Linked DNA regions of Homo sapiens: regions 1, 2 and 4 are each linked to region 3. Evidence: promoter capture Hi-C in 16 types of primary human blood cells and fetal thymus (Javierre and others, 2016). All regions are on one chromosome and are shown on one strand. The core of a region is centred on a gene start or on the middle of the fragment in contact, and the rest is flanking DNA. Distances in the headings are between cores, read along the strand shown.

Region 1 (3,446 bases), core at 702-3,201, 650 kb before region 3:
AGTTAAAATTTAAAACTTGGAACTATTTTAGAATTTCTGCATTGGTTGAAAGAAATTTAAACTCCATTCAAACTCTAAAATTCAACAGCTCTGTTAAATATATGAGGGTTGTGTGATGGAGAAAATCAGAACAAAAAGTTTAAAAAAAAATAGAATGGGAGAGGGAGGCTGAGTTTATTCAGATTCATGTACATGTATGTTTCTGTATATTTACTTTAATATAACTTAGCTTCGGAACTACTAAAAACATGATAACTCATAGTCTGAGTGATGTTGGATTTGCCAGTTATGTTCCTTTACAAGAAGATATCTTAAAATAAATAAACATTCCAATATGTTGTGACTCTTAATTTTTTCTCCTAATACTTTTCTTGTTTTCTCCATAACAAAGCTGGAAGCCATCCATAAGTGTTATTTAACATTTACAGAGCAACTAATAAGTGCAAGGCACTGGCATCTATTATACCATAACACATTATTGTCTCTCATTTTGAAAATGAGAAAACTGGGGAACTGAGAGACTAAACACTGCATCCAGATTTACTTGTATGTTAAATAGGGTTATTGGGATTTAGGTTAATCCGTGTAAAATCTCTGATTTTGTCAGTATAATTCAAAACAGAAAACAATTTTGCACAAGTTTAATCATTTTTTAAGACAAAAAATTAGAACATCGTTCCAGGAGTATTAAGGAAATAGGAGTACTTTCATAATTCAAACTTGAAGAGTAGCGTTATTTTTCTTAAAGGAATGACTTTCTTTTCCAGAACAAAGAAACTTAAGGACCCCAGTAGATCAGTGAAGATGGAAATAAATGCAATGTTTTGAGGATTTATGTACCCATGAGCTTACAACCAAATTGAATATGAATATGTATATACATAAAAAATAAATACTACCTATGGAAAACCTATTTTTGATTTAGCAGATTAAAAACAAGCTTTTCCAAAAGAGAGGTAAATTTATTCAATAAGAAAATTCATTAAGCCACTTCTGGCCTTTTATTATCTTCAAATTCTAACAGATTTCCTTCTAACCAGAGACCATTGTTATACAAGAAAATTGTTAGCTGCTATAGTACATTCATATATTACTATATGATATAGTACATTCGTATATTACTATACGATATAGTACATTCGTATATTACTATACGATATAGTACATTCGTATATTACTAACTGAAGTAAAAAAATGTCAGTTTGATACAGCTCTTCTAAGGTTATGAATGTGTATTTTTATTACATTTCTCAAATATGATGCAGCAAACCACAATGGAAACACTTGCATTAAAATGACACTCAGACCAAATGTTCATGCTTGAATCTCTCATAAAATGCCTCTAATGAAGTGGTGAATAGGCATCTATGAACTCTAGTTATTTTAATTTGCTAATTGATATTTTATTACCACCTTAATCTAAAGAGCCCTTGTATAAATTTATATGGAATTAGATAAAATTATAATAAACCTATAGTGTCATTTGAGGCATCTATATTCCAATGCAATCAAGAAAAAAAGTCTCAGAAGAGCCCTCAAAACCCTGAACCAATTAGCCATTTATTTGTTCTCTGGATTTTTTGCTGCCTCTTTCATTTCTATCCTATAGTAGAAGCAGGAAGTTATGTTCATTTTTAGGTATACAAAAATACTGTTATTATTTTAACCTTCTAGAATATTGCAAAGTCTGACATGCTTACTTACCTGTTGACTTTCCCTGGTTTTGTATACATTGAAAGATTTTACTTTAAGTGGAAAAATGTTTTCCATATGAACATCTAGCATCATTTCCCCAGGTGTATTATAAAAACTAAAATTCTAAATATAGAAATAAATGGTACGTAGACCAACAAATATCACCAAATGGCAGCAAGCAACACTTCCCACCTCAATACCTTCAAAGGCTGACCTAAAAAGTTTGTTTAAAGCAGGGTTTCTCAACTTTGGCAATATTGACGTTTTGGGCAGGATAATTCCTTTTTTGTGGGGAGCTATCCTGTAAGTTGTAGAATGTTTAGCAGCATCCCCGGCCTCTACAACCTGGATGCCAGTAGCAACAGTTTCCCACACCCTCCCCCATACTATGTACTAAGCCAACCAGAAACACCACCGGACATTGCAAATATCATCTGCGGGGCAAAATTACCGCTGTTGTAAAGAAGTAGCTCCAGATGAATAAATGTTTATAAAACATATTAGTTGGTTTGGGGTTGTCAAGTTTTAGGTAATCTTTCTATCATTCCATGTTATGTATTTAAGTCTGCTCTAAAAATATTTTAAATCTTTCGAAAAAATACAGTAAACTATGGCATGAATTAGGTAGGGATAATGTTTGTTCTACAGTTTTAACATAGGTGGTAGGAACTCAGCAGTTGTAGGTTGGATTGAGGAATGGATAAATTAAAACAATTCTCATTAAGGGAATGAGATAGGGGTTTGGTCTAAACTCAAGCATGATTAGTCATGACCCAGCTAGCCACTGCAGAACTGAACACTGACAGCCCAGGCAAGGGGTCCAGGCAAGGGCTGGGGAGAATGGCCTCAGCATCAGGTGTGGGCAGGAAATAGTCTGCTAGGCAGAAGAGTGTATTCTTTTTTGTAGAATTATGCACTAGCAGGTTATTCAATGTGTATAACACAGAAATGCTGGAGCCAAGATGACATCCAGAGGTTCAGTAGGTAGGCAGGCAGGCAATTGACATTGTGGAAGTAGGTAAACCTGTAACAGGACCCTAGTCACCATTTTAAGATATGGGTCAAGACTTCAATTCCTGAGAGATGACTGAAACAAAAATGAGTATATCCCATGATAGTGTACTGTTAGGCGGCAGAGATAAAGCCTTAAGCATAGAGATGACTTTAGTATATTTTCCAGAATTGAGGTTCTGGCTGTACTCATAGTCTTCCCTTGTACTGCATGAGTAGATTCATGGCAGTTTGTATGCTTTAGTGGGCAATATTTTAAAGCTTAGATTGCAATTATATTAATACATATATATGTGTTTATATATGCACTCACTAAACTACACATACATGCATGCTCTTGGCTTTAAAATATTCAAACTCTGCCAGGTGCCATGGCTCACACCTGTAATCCCAGAATTTTGGGAGGCCAAGGGAGGAGGAGTTCAAGACAAGCCTGGGCAACATAGTGAGATGCCGATTCTACAAAAAATGAAGGAAAAAAAAAAAGCTAGATGTGGTGGCTTGACACTGTAGTCCCAGCTACTCAGGAGGCTGAGGTGGGAAGATTGCTTGAGACCAGGAGTTCAAGGCTGCAGTGAGCTATGATCACAGCACTGCACTCCAAATTGTGCAACAGAGTGAGACCCTGAGACCCTGTCTCTAAAATAAAAAATAAAAAATAAAAAGTATCCAAACTCTGGAAGATTAATTTGGAATAGAAACACCATTATTCTGAGTAAATGTGATCCCATAATATAACC
Region 2 (3,552 bases), core at 383-2,882, 630 kb before region 3:
GTTGAAATGTATTAGTGAATGATTGAATGTGGAAGATTAAGAGATACAGATTTGTTATTTCCAGATTATTGGATTGGGTGCTTGGGTAAATAGTGGTGCTATTAACTGAAATCAATAGAGGTGGAACAACAGGTTGGCGAATTGCAGGGGTGATAAAATGAGTTTAGCTTTGGAAATGCTGAGCTTTTGGTGCCTGTGGGAATTCCAACTATAAATGTACAGCAGCTCTTGGATGATGATTTAAAAGACATAAAATACAGACAGGAGTTATAATCACGAGGAAGGCAAATAAAGATAAAGGGTAGGAGGTCAAGGATGGAAATCTGGAGAATACCAACATTTAATTGATAAGCAAAGGAAACAAGGAATGAAATGGAGTAGACAGGAGGCTATAAGGAAACACTAGACAAAAAGATGGTCAGGGTTGTGGAAACAAAGGGTATTGAGAGAGTTTCAAAAAAAAATAAAAGTAACCAATTCTGAAATGTAGAGAGTGGTTTAGTAAGATAAAGATCCATCAGAAATTACCATTGGATCTGGCAATGTGGAATTCTTCAGTGATGTTATAAACTCATCAGTGTTAACCTTCAGTGAAGCAGTGAGGGCAGAGGCAGATTGCTGTTAGCTGAGAAATGAATCAGAAGTGAGGAGAGGAAACAGCATATTTAGGCCATATGTTCACTTAGTTTGGCAAGAATAAAAGGGAGATTGGACACTAGCTACAAGGAAATACAAGGCTAAAAGGAAAATCAAGAGAGAATAAAGTTATAGAGAAGAAGTTTTTTTATCACAAATAATAGTCATTTTAATGATTATGTGCTGGACATTGTTCTAAATTCTTTATGCACATTAATTCTTTTATTCCTCCGAATAACCCTAATAAGTAATATTAGTGTTATCATCTTCCTTTCAGCAAACCAGAATACCAAAGTAGGGGGAGGTTTAGTAACCTGTCCAAAGTCAGCTTCTGAGTTAATGGCAGAACAGGGCTTTGAACCAAGGCAGGTTGGCTGAGAGCCACACATGCTTAGCCACTATATTTTATTTCCTTTACTTTGCCTGTTAGAGTTTTAGATTTTTTCTTTCTTTCTTTCTTTTTTTTTTTTTTTTTGAGACGGAGTCTCACTCTATTGCCCAGGCTGGAGTTCGGTGGCGCGATCCCCGCTCACTGCAAGCTCCGCCTCCTGGGTTCACACCATTCTCCCGCCTCAGCCTCCCAAGTAGCAGGGACTACAGGCGCCCGCGACCACCCCTGGCTAATTTTGTTTTTGTATTTTTAGTAGAGACGGGGTTTCACCGTGTTAGCCAGGATGGTCTCCATCTCCTGACCTCGTGATCCGCCCGCCTCAGCCTCCCAAAGTGCTGGGATTACAGGCGTGAGCCACCGCGCCTGGCCAGTTTTTTTTTCTTTTTTTAAAAAATCAACTTTTATTTTAGAGACGGGGGTACTTGTGCAGGTTTGTTACATGGGTATATTGCATCCAGGTAGTGAGCATAGTACCCAATTGTTAGTTTTTCAACCCATGGCTCTTCTCTTCCTCCCGCTTCTAGTAGTCCCAAGTGTATATTGTTCCCATGTTTACATCTTTATGTGCTTAGTATTTATCTTCACACTTCTAAGTGAGAATATGTGGTACTTGGTTTTCTTTTCTTACATTAATTCACTTAGGATTATCGCTTCCAGCTACATCCATGTTGCGGCAAAGGACATGATTTCATTCTTTTTTATGGCTGCATAGAATTCTATGGTGTATATGTACCATTTTTTTTTTTTATCCAAACCACCATTGATGGGCACCTAGGTTGATTCCATGTCCTTGCTATTGTGAGTAGCATGGCAATGAACATATGAGTGTGTGTGTCTTTTTGGTATGATGATCTATTTCCTTTGGGTATATACCCAGTAATGGGATTGCTGGGTGAAATGGTAGTTCTGTTTTAATTTATTTGAGAAATCTCCAAATTGCTTTCCACAGTGACTCAACTAATTTACATTCCCACTAACAGTGTATAGGTGGTCCCTTTTCTCTGCAGTCTCACCAGCATCTGTTGTTTTTTGGCTTTTTAATAATAATCATTCTGATGGTATGAGGTGGTATCTCATTGTGGTTTTGATTTGAACTTCTCTGAGGATTAGTGATGATGAGCATTTTTTCATATGCTTGGGGGCCACTCGTATGTCTTCTTTTGAGAAGTGTCTGTTCATGTTCTTTGCCCACTTTTTAATGGGGTTGTTTTTTGCTTGTTGATTTGTTTAAGTTCATAGACTTCGGATATTAGAGCTTTGTCAGATGCATAGATTGTGAATATTTTCTCCCATTTTGTAAGTTGTCTGTTTATAAATCGGAGACGACACAAATAAATGGAAAAACATTCCATGCTCATGGATTGGAAGAATCAATATTGTTAACATGGCCACACTGCCCAAAGCAATTTACAGATTCAATGTTATTCCTGTCAAACTACAATGCCATTCTTCACAGAATTAGATAAAACTATTCTAACATTCATATGGAACCAAAAAAGAACCCGAATAGCCAAAGCAATCCTAAGCAAAAAGAACAAAGCTGGAGGCATCACTATCTGACTTCAAACTATAAGGCTATACCAAACAAAACAGTGTGGTACTCATACAAAAACAGACACATAGATCAATGGAACAGAATAGAAAATTCAGAAATAAAGTGGCACACTTACGATCTGATCTTCAATAAGGCCAACAAAAACAAGTAATGGGGAGAGGGCTCCCCAGTTCAATAAATGGTGCTGGGATAACTGGCTAGCCATATGCAGAAGAATTAAACTGGACCCCTACCTTTCACCATATACAAAAATTATCTCAAGATGGATTAAAGATTTAAATATAAGACCTCAAACTAGAAAAATCCTAGAAGAGAACCTAAGAAATAGTTTTCTCAACATCAGCCTTGGCAAAGAATTTTTGACTAAGTCCCCAAAAGCAACTGAAGCAAAACCAAGAATTGACAAGTGGGACCTAATTAAACTAAAGAGCTTAGGCTGCTATAATCTTGATTGTGGATGGTACGTGTGGGCCCAGGGCTCCTCATATCAGATGGGTAGAGTAATTATAAAAACTACTTTGGGGTCTAGTATAGCTCTCAGCAAAATAGTGTATGCACAATAAATGTTTGTTGAATAAATGAATTATAGTTAAAATGCCTTATTACCTAGAATCAAGGAATTACTTTTAACTTTGTACTAAGCATGTTTGTTTCTCTGCCTTCACATTCTAACCAGCTTAAGTTCTAATTTTTCTTTAAATATTTTTCTGACGTGCTAGCTTATTTTCTTATCATTATGCACCTCCCATAGCCTTTATTATTTGGATTATGTATTTTATTCCTTAATTACATTATTACATTGTATTCTAATTTGGTTTTTATCTAATTCTTTGCAAATAGTTTGTGTATGTAAAGAAACCAAAGTACCCTCTTTTTTTGTATCCTATATAGGGCATTATGCCCAGGTTTTCATTCTTTTGGTTTTGTTTGTTTGCTTTTGTTTGTTTGTTTGTTTTAGAGACAGAGAGTC
Region 3 (3,714 bases), core at 458-2,957:
ACCAGGCACAGTGGCTCACACCTGTAATCCCAACACTTTGGGAGGTCGAGGCGGGCGGACCCCTTGAGCCCAGGAATTTGAGACCCGCCTGGGCAATATGGTGAAACCCTGTCACTATAAAAAAAATACCAAAAAAAAAAATAGGCTGGGAGTGGTGGCTCACGCCTGTAATCCCAGCACTTTGGGAGGCCAAGGCGGGTGGATCATGAGGTCAGGAGTTTGAAACCAGCCTGGCCAAGGTGGTGAAACCCCGTCTCTGCTAAAAATACAAAAATTAGCTGGGCATGGTGGCAGGCACCTGTAATCCCAGCTACTCGGGAGGCTGAGGCAGGAGAATCACTTGAACCCGGGAGATAGAGGTTGCAGTGAGCCAAGATCGCACCACTGCACTCCAGCCTGGGTGACAGAGCAAGACTCCATCTCAAAAAAAAAAAAAAAAGCCTAGCTGGGCAAGGTGGTATGTGCCTGCGGTCTCAGCTACTCAGGAGGCTGAGGTGAGAGAATTCATTGAGCCCGGCAGGTTGGAGCTGCAGTGAGCCATGATGGTGCCACAGCCCTCCAGCCTAGGCAGCAGGAAAGAGGCCCTTCTCAAAAAAAAAAAAGCATAGACTCTAGGGCCAAATTGATGTGCTCAAGCAAAGGTTTTGCCACTTACGGTGTAACCTTGGGCCAGTTGCTTAACCTCTCTTGACCTCACTTGCCTTCTTTGTAAACCAGAGGTGATAATAGTATACCCATTTCATAGGGCTGTGGTGAGAACTAGAGGAGTTAATACATTTAAAGAGCTTAAAAGTGTCTGGTGCATAGCAAGTGCTACGTAAATGTTAAACCTTTCCTGCCCTTTTCCTCTGCTCCTCCTTTCCCTTGTTTCCTGTTACAGCATTCCTTCTTTTTTTCTTACTATTTCCTCACTATGCCTTTGCTTGAATACTAAAAAGAAACTACTGGTCCAACAGCAGGCAACACCTCATGCGATTACTTTAAATGACTTCAAAATAATACAAACATATCCAGCACAATAGTTTACATTTTAAAGGTGTTACACCCATTTTGTTTTGAGATGTGTCAACAAAACCCGTGTTTCTTTTCTTTCTATAAGTTTAAAATGTCCCCAAATCAATTAACAATAGAGGAAAGTCACACGATCTGTTTTAATTTTTCTCTTTATACTGCTATCTCCTGTTTCCCCTGTTTTTACACTTCTTTGCAGCTCACTTTCCTTATCTGTAAGATATTCTTAGGATGAACTTAGTAAGAAATGTGCAAGATCTAGATGAAGACCCACCAGATAGGATGCTCTCTTGCAGACACGCAACTCACTGACTCAACCAATGAGGAAATTATCCCACAAAGCAGATAATCCTAATGGAGGGCAGAATTCAGGACTGAGCATCTCAGTGATGCCGCCGGGAACCCAGGCTTCTCTGTCCCTTCACCGGACTAACCGAGTTCGAGACCACAGGGGGGTCAGGTAGCCAAGGCTGGGCTTTGACGGTAGGAATGAAGGAGGTGAGGGTGGCGCGCCGCAGGCCTGGGCCACTCCCTGAGTAGGGCGGCGGCGGCGGCGGCGGCGGCGGCGGCAGCGGCGGCAGCGGCTGCAGGCCTGGCCGATTGTGAGGAGACAGCGGTACCTCCTGGGCCGCGCACCCGACCCTTCCAGGGGTCCCGGCTCGCGCCGCGGCCGCGCGAGGCGCGCTCGAGCGGAAGTGGCGGCGACCCCGCCGGAAGCGCGCGGCTGCGGCGCGGGAAGCAACCCAGAGCCCTCCTCCCGCCTGCTCTGTGTAGGAGACAGCCTGCGGAGCCCACTGCCGGCGCGCAGAGAGCCCAGCAGCTCTTGAGTCCAGGAAGCAAGGGTGGGAGGAGGGACGAGCCAGTGGCAATGACCCAGACCCGGACGACCCCCATTGCTGAGCCAGCGGAGCTGCTTGGTGAGTGGCCTCCAGGCGGCATCTCTTGCTCTCAGCCCGGAGGGGGTTTTGGGGACCCAGGCTGTGGGGCTGCCTCTTCCCATGCCTTCAGTTCACCCCGATATGGGGTGAAAAACCCTAGAGACCCTCGGGTGTCGGTCCACCAAGGGAGGTCCAGACTCCCCAGGAATGTTGCCTGGGGAGGGGTGTCGCGGTGGGGGGGGGGGTGACCCAGGCCCACCCTCTGCAGGGCACTTAAAATGCTCCACATCCCCAGTGGATGCCTCCTGTCACGCATCACACCGTGGTGTATTTGAGATCCCATCTGCCACTTGGGCTGGAGGGAAATGAATGTTTTTGGGTTTCTTGTCATTGCTTCCTGCGGATTCCATTTTACTCCTGTTCGTTTATGGCCTCAAACATGAATTTGAAGAATTTTGCCCTCCCTGGCAGTATTGGGAAGAAGATTCTTTTGTTCAAGTCCGTTTGGACAATTAGATGGGAGTATTAACAAAAGGTCGGGCTGGGCACAGTGGCTCACACCTGTAATCCCAACACTTTGGGAGGCCAAAGAGCAAGGATCGCTTGAGCCCAGGAGTTCGAAACCAGCTGGGGCAACAGAGGGAGAACTTGTCTCTACAAAAAATTTAAAAATCAGCTGGGCATGGTGGTGCACGCCTGTAGCCCAAGCTATATGGGAAGCTGAGGTGGGAGGATTGCTTGAGCCCGAGAGTTTGAGGCTGCTGTGAGCTGAGATCACGCCACTGCATTCCAGCCTGGGCAACAAAGCAAGACCCTGTCTGAGGTCAACTCTGCCCCCAGGAAGGTATGGGACCTTGCAATCTTATCTAGGTTGCGTCTTTTTCATTGAAATCACGAAATCATTAAGGTAAGTAGGGAAGGGTCAAGATAGCTAAGATGAGTGAGGGGACACAGACACCAATAAAAGTTCTAACTTTGAGGACTCCTCCAGTATTCTTTTCATCCTAAAGCTTCTGGCCTATCAGCTAGTTCAGACACAGCCTAGGAGTCTCAAGCCAGTACAGGAACAAGGAGGCAGGTTGCCCTCTTGGGGCAAAGCTGTGGCCCCACCCTTGATGAAGAACGCCTGTAGGAACCCAGGACCTGTGAGCAGGTAGAGTCCTGAAGGTTTAAGATTCTGTGGAGCAGGTATGTGCAGTGCCAGTGCGCAACCAGCAACTGATGGACAGGAATAGGTAGAGCTGCTCTGAGTGCATTCCTTTGGCAAGCCTGGGCCAGAGGCACACAGGAAGGAATTAGTCATGTGGTATCATAGGCCAGGTGTGGAAGCAAATGAGCCAGAGTGGAACCAGGACCAGCCAGGGCCAAGGCAGGGAGAAGAGTTCCTCTAGCTGACATTGACAGGAAAGCAGAGTCAAAAACCTGGAATGGTTTGCTTCAAAGACTGGATGCTGCCTAATGACCTCGAAGGCCAGTGATACCTGGACTCTTGAGTGAGCAAGGCAGATTTTGGAATGAGCACACAACTTCAAGTAAGCCCGGAGATGATTACCTGTAGTTTCTGCTGCTCTTAGAGGCAGAATCATCTGAGAACTGATTGAGGAGTGCATGTATACCCCAGAGACTAGTGCACTCTAGGATAAAAGGAGTCATTCAGCCCTTACTTTTGGTTGGATGCAGGGTGTAGTTTCAATAAAATGTCACAGAACAAATTTCTAAGACCTTTAGGTTGAGTGAGTGTTAGAGTTTGTCTAGTAGTATATTTCTCATCAGTTACCTATTTAGCTGTTCTGCATAGGCCTTTGAGATAAGGAAATAAGTAAGA
Region 4 (3,662 bases), core at 250-2,749, 710 kb before region 3:
TTAGTAAATAGCATGCATTCCTACGTTGGAAAGCAGACCACCTGTGTACACAAAACACCTGGGTATAAAGACTGAAGTCTCCTATTATTGATTCAAAACATGAATATCAATGGCAGAATTCTGGAATATTATCAGATAATATTCTCAAAGGTGCTAATAAACTAAAAACTTCACACAGTGCCCTGTAGATGTTGCTTCAATTTCTCTTCAGGTTTTCTTCTTTTCATTCCTTTATATGCAAAGTTGCTGGATTTAGCAAATAAAAGAGCAAGATGCCCATAACATTTGAATTTCAGATAAATAAAGAATTTTTTAGTATAAGTATGTCCCATGTAATATGTGGGACACAGTTATACTAGAAAATTCTTTGTCATTTATCTGAATTTTAGTCATAACTGGGCATTCTGTGTTTTGTGCTTTTTGTTTGTTTGTTTGTTTTTTGTTTTACTGAGATGGAGTTTTGCTCTTGTTGCCTAGGCTGGAGTGCAATGGCATGATCTTGGCTCACAGCAACCTCCGCCTCCTGGGTTCATGCAATTCTCCTGCCTTAGCCTCCTGAGTAGCTGGGATTATAGGCATGTGCCACCACACCTGGCTAATTATTATTATTATTATTATTATTATTATTTTTAGTAAAGGCAGGGCTTCTCCATATTGGTCAGGCTGGTCTCGAACTCCCGACCTCAGGTGATCTGATCTGCCAGCCTTGGCCTCCCAAAGTGCTGGGATTACAGGTGTGAGCCACCGAGCCCGGCGTTTTTTTTTCCTTTTTGAGGCAGAGTCTTGCTCTGTTGCCCAAACTGGAGTGAAGAGGCATGATCTCGGCTCACTGCAGCCTCCGCCTCTCAGGTTCATGCTTCAGCCTCCCTAGTAGCTAGGACTACAGGTGTGCACCACCATGCCCACCTAAATTTTTGTATTTTTAGTAGAAACAGGTTTTCACCATGTTGCCCAGGCTGGTCTCGAACTTCTGAGCTCAGGCAGTCTGCCCTCCTTGGCCTCTCAGTGTGCTAGGATTACAGGCGTAAGCCACCACACCCGGCCGGGCACTCTGTATTTTACCTGGCAACTCTAGTTATATGCAAATACCTTGGACTATCTCTAAAGATAATCTGGTCTTTGTATGAGTTAACAGATGATTTTTATATATTTGGAGGGGAGAGATATTCAGTTAGTAACCATTCTATAAACTTTACCTCAAGACCTGACATGGAAATTTACCAGACTTGGTTTACCGGGTGGTCCACTGCTAGGAAAACATTTTCTAAAATGGCCAGAAAGCAAATATTTTAGGTGTTTTAGGTCGTGTAGTCTCTGTCACAACTATTCAACTCTTCCTTTGTCATGTGAAAGCAGCCACAGATAGTGTATACATAGGTGGGTGTGGCTATGTTGCAATGAAAGCTTATTTACAGAAACAGCTGTCAGGTTGGATTTGGCACACAGTTTTCCAACCCGTGGCACAATTGAACTGGCACATAGATGACATTCCAGTGTCATTACATGTAACTTATTGGAAAATCAGTCCGACATATTGGATATAACTGGACTCTTCAAAATTATAAAAATAGCAAGGTCATGAAGAGAAATGGAATAAAGCTTTTGCACAAATACTCTGCTGTATCCCTCTGCCACAGTAAGTAGATGAGAATGAACATAGGCTCATTTGGGTTTAAAACATTAATTGGAACTAATTAAATTTTGCACATTGTACTATTTCATAGTTGGTAATACAAAGAGACACTGTTATTCAGCCAAATTATAACTTTTTTGAAAAATTAATGAAAATATTTAAAATTTAAAATGGTGTTGGGGGCTGGCAACTCAGAGATGGAAAATTTAAACGAGATGAATAACACTGAAGAAGGCAAGTAAAAAGGCATCTCGTTACACAAGGGCAGCTGAAAGGCAGACAAATAACAGGATACGGCTGGTAGGATAAATAGAAGGAGACAAGTCTTGAGTAGTTTCCATGACTCATTGCTGAGCCACAGTAACCAGAGAGGCACAGAGACTGATTCAAAATGCATACAGGAAAAGTGAATATGGCATGCAGAAAGAGGAATAAAAAGAGCCAAGAACCAAGAAAGGATGAAATGGAATGATGTCTTAGAGAGATAACTTCCCTGGAGAGACTTCTGGAAAATAGAGACACAGAAATTGGTTTTGTTTATGATCTCTTGCCAGCAGCTTCTTGTTTACAATACAAGGGTTAAGTCAAAGATGACAGGTGTACCTGACAATGACAGGAAAGCATTTTTACAGCAAGAGTGTTTTGCTGTCCTAAGGGTTTAGTCTAATAGAAAGAACTCAGGCATATATTTAAAATCAATCATGTGTCTGACAGCCAACGATGCATTTCAGATAATCCATTGGGACAAATGTTTCACTTGCTAAATTTGAGACACACATAAGAGATGCAAAAGCAAATTGAGCGGAAAAAAAAGTCACTTTATTTAATAAGTTTCTTTTTCCCTTTCCATTCATCATCAAAGCCAGAATAAACCTGACACAACGGAAATGACTAAAATGAAGTAAAAAGGTAGTTGTCATTGAATAGTTATCCCCATGGCAATAGGAATAGACTGTGAACACCAAAGAATGAAAGGAATGAATGAATAATGAATGAATAAACACAATATGTATTTTGAGAACTCGGAATCAATCTGATGGTTTTGGGATGTGCCAGAAAAGATACACAAGAGTCATGATATCAGAAATGACCAACATTCTGGCTTTGCTAGAATTTGCTAATTTGTGAGATAAAATTCTTCCCATGTTAGAAGGCAAATTTAGAGGAAATAGCCCAAGATAGCTTTAGCTTTAGCTGCTGCTTTGTTATTATCATGAAAATAGTAGCTGAACTACTCTTAAGATGAGAATTTATACACTGTGATCAAAATAACTTTAAAAAATATCTCCAGCTCCTGTGTGATTCTTTTTGCATATGTCACACTAAAATGTATAAGAAAGTCTTTATTCTGATGAAGTCACTAGATATCATCAAAGGAAAAATTTATCTTGCTGGAGGCATAATAAAAACCTTTATTGAGCACTTCCTAAGTGTCAGGCATGGTGGTGAGTGCTTTGATAGTAGTTTCACAACAACCCTGGGAAGAAGATATTATTAATATCTCTATTTTTATATGGAAAAAACTGAAGCCCAGAAAGGTTAAGTAACTTGCTAAGGAACGCAGCTGAGAATTGGCAGTGCAGGGATTCTACTGCAGGCTGCCTCACCCCAAAGTCTAGGTCTGGATCACAACTCTACATTGTAAGGTTTTCTGCATGCCTGGACTGAAATATTTGGTAATTCACTACCCATGACAACAGTGCCCCCCCTAGACCTCTTTAATTGGCTTTGGTCGTGCAAGAGTCCTTTAAGAGAACTTTCCCGTTCTGGGTTATAAACACTGCCTACCTCTTAACTCATGATGCTGGTTCGTGGCCAGAAAGGTGATTTTAGTGGGTCATCTACCACTACACTGATTTCTAGAGTTGATTCTGTTGTTTTACTGGCTAGGCAGGTGTGTCCTTTCTCCCTCTCTTCAGTCGGCAAGCAGCCCTCCAGAGGCCCATTCTTTGGTCATGGATATTCATAGAAGGCATTCAAGTTTCCTGATTGAATTAATCATAGTGTGATTGACCACTCAGGGCGGTTC

Evidence for each region. Contacts are between HindIII fragments. The CHiCAGO score rates a contact against its expected background, and 5 or more counts as called.
Region 1: a fragment that was not itself captured here is called in contact with the fragment with the promoter of KHDC1 in region 3 in 1 of 17 cell types (total CD8 T cells); the score reaches 5.2 in total CD8 T cells.
Region 2: a contact is called between a fragment that was not itself captured here and the fragment with the promoter of KHDC1 in region 3, in 2 of 17 cell types (naive CD8 T cells and fetal thymus). The highest score is 6.2, in naive CD8 T cells.
Region 4: a contact is called between a fragment that was not itself captured here and the fragment with the promoter of KHDC1 in region 3, in 2 of 17 cell types (erythroblasts and naive CD4 T cells). The highest score is 7.4, in erythroblasts.

The regions. Positions count from the first base shown.
Region 1 is chr6:72,608,138-72,611,583 of GRCh38, forward strand. No RefSeq gene overlaps it. Among named protein-coding and RNA genes, the nearest start is that of KCNQ5, 12 kb to the right of the region's middle. The HindIII fragment of the contact is 2,027 bases long and covers 939-2,965 here.
Region 2 is chr6:72,631,045-72,634,596 of GRCh38, forward strand. All of the region lies in intron 1 of KCNQ5 (potassium voltage-gated channel subfamily Q member 5), which reads left to right. The region is part of intron 1 of KCNQ5-IT1 (KCNQ5 intronic transcript 1); the gene reads left to right. Among named protein-coding and RNA genes, the nearest start is that of KCNQ5-IT1, 2.3 kb to the left of the region's middle. The HindIII fragment of the contact is 9,254 bases long and covers 1-3,552 here.
Region 3 is chr6:73,261,489-73,265,202 of GRCh38, forward strand. KHDC1 (KH domain containing 1) reads right to left here and starts at 1,708. Exons shown (of 4, transcript NM_030568.5): 1 at 1,286-1,708. All of the region lies in intron 2 of LOC122539213 (KHDC1-KHDC1L), which reads right to left. It also overlaps the pseudogene KHDC1-AS1. RefSeq lists a silencer at 1,552-1,821. The HindIII fragment of the contact is 4,328 bases long and covers 1-2,897 here.
Region 4 is chr6:72,551,722-72,555,383 of GRCh38, forward strand. No RefSeq gene overlaps it. Among named protein-coding and RNA genes, the nearest start is that of KCNQ5, 69 kb to the right of the region's middle. The HindIII fragment of the contact is 195 bases long and covers 1,403-1,597 here.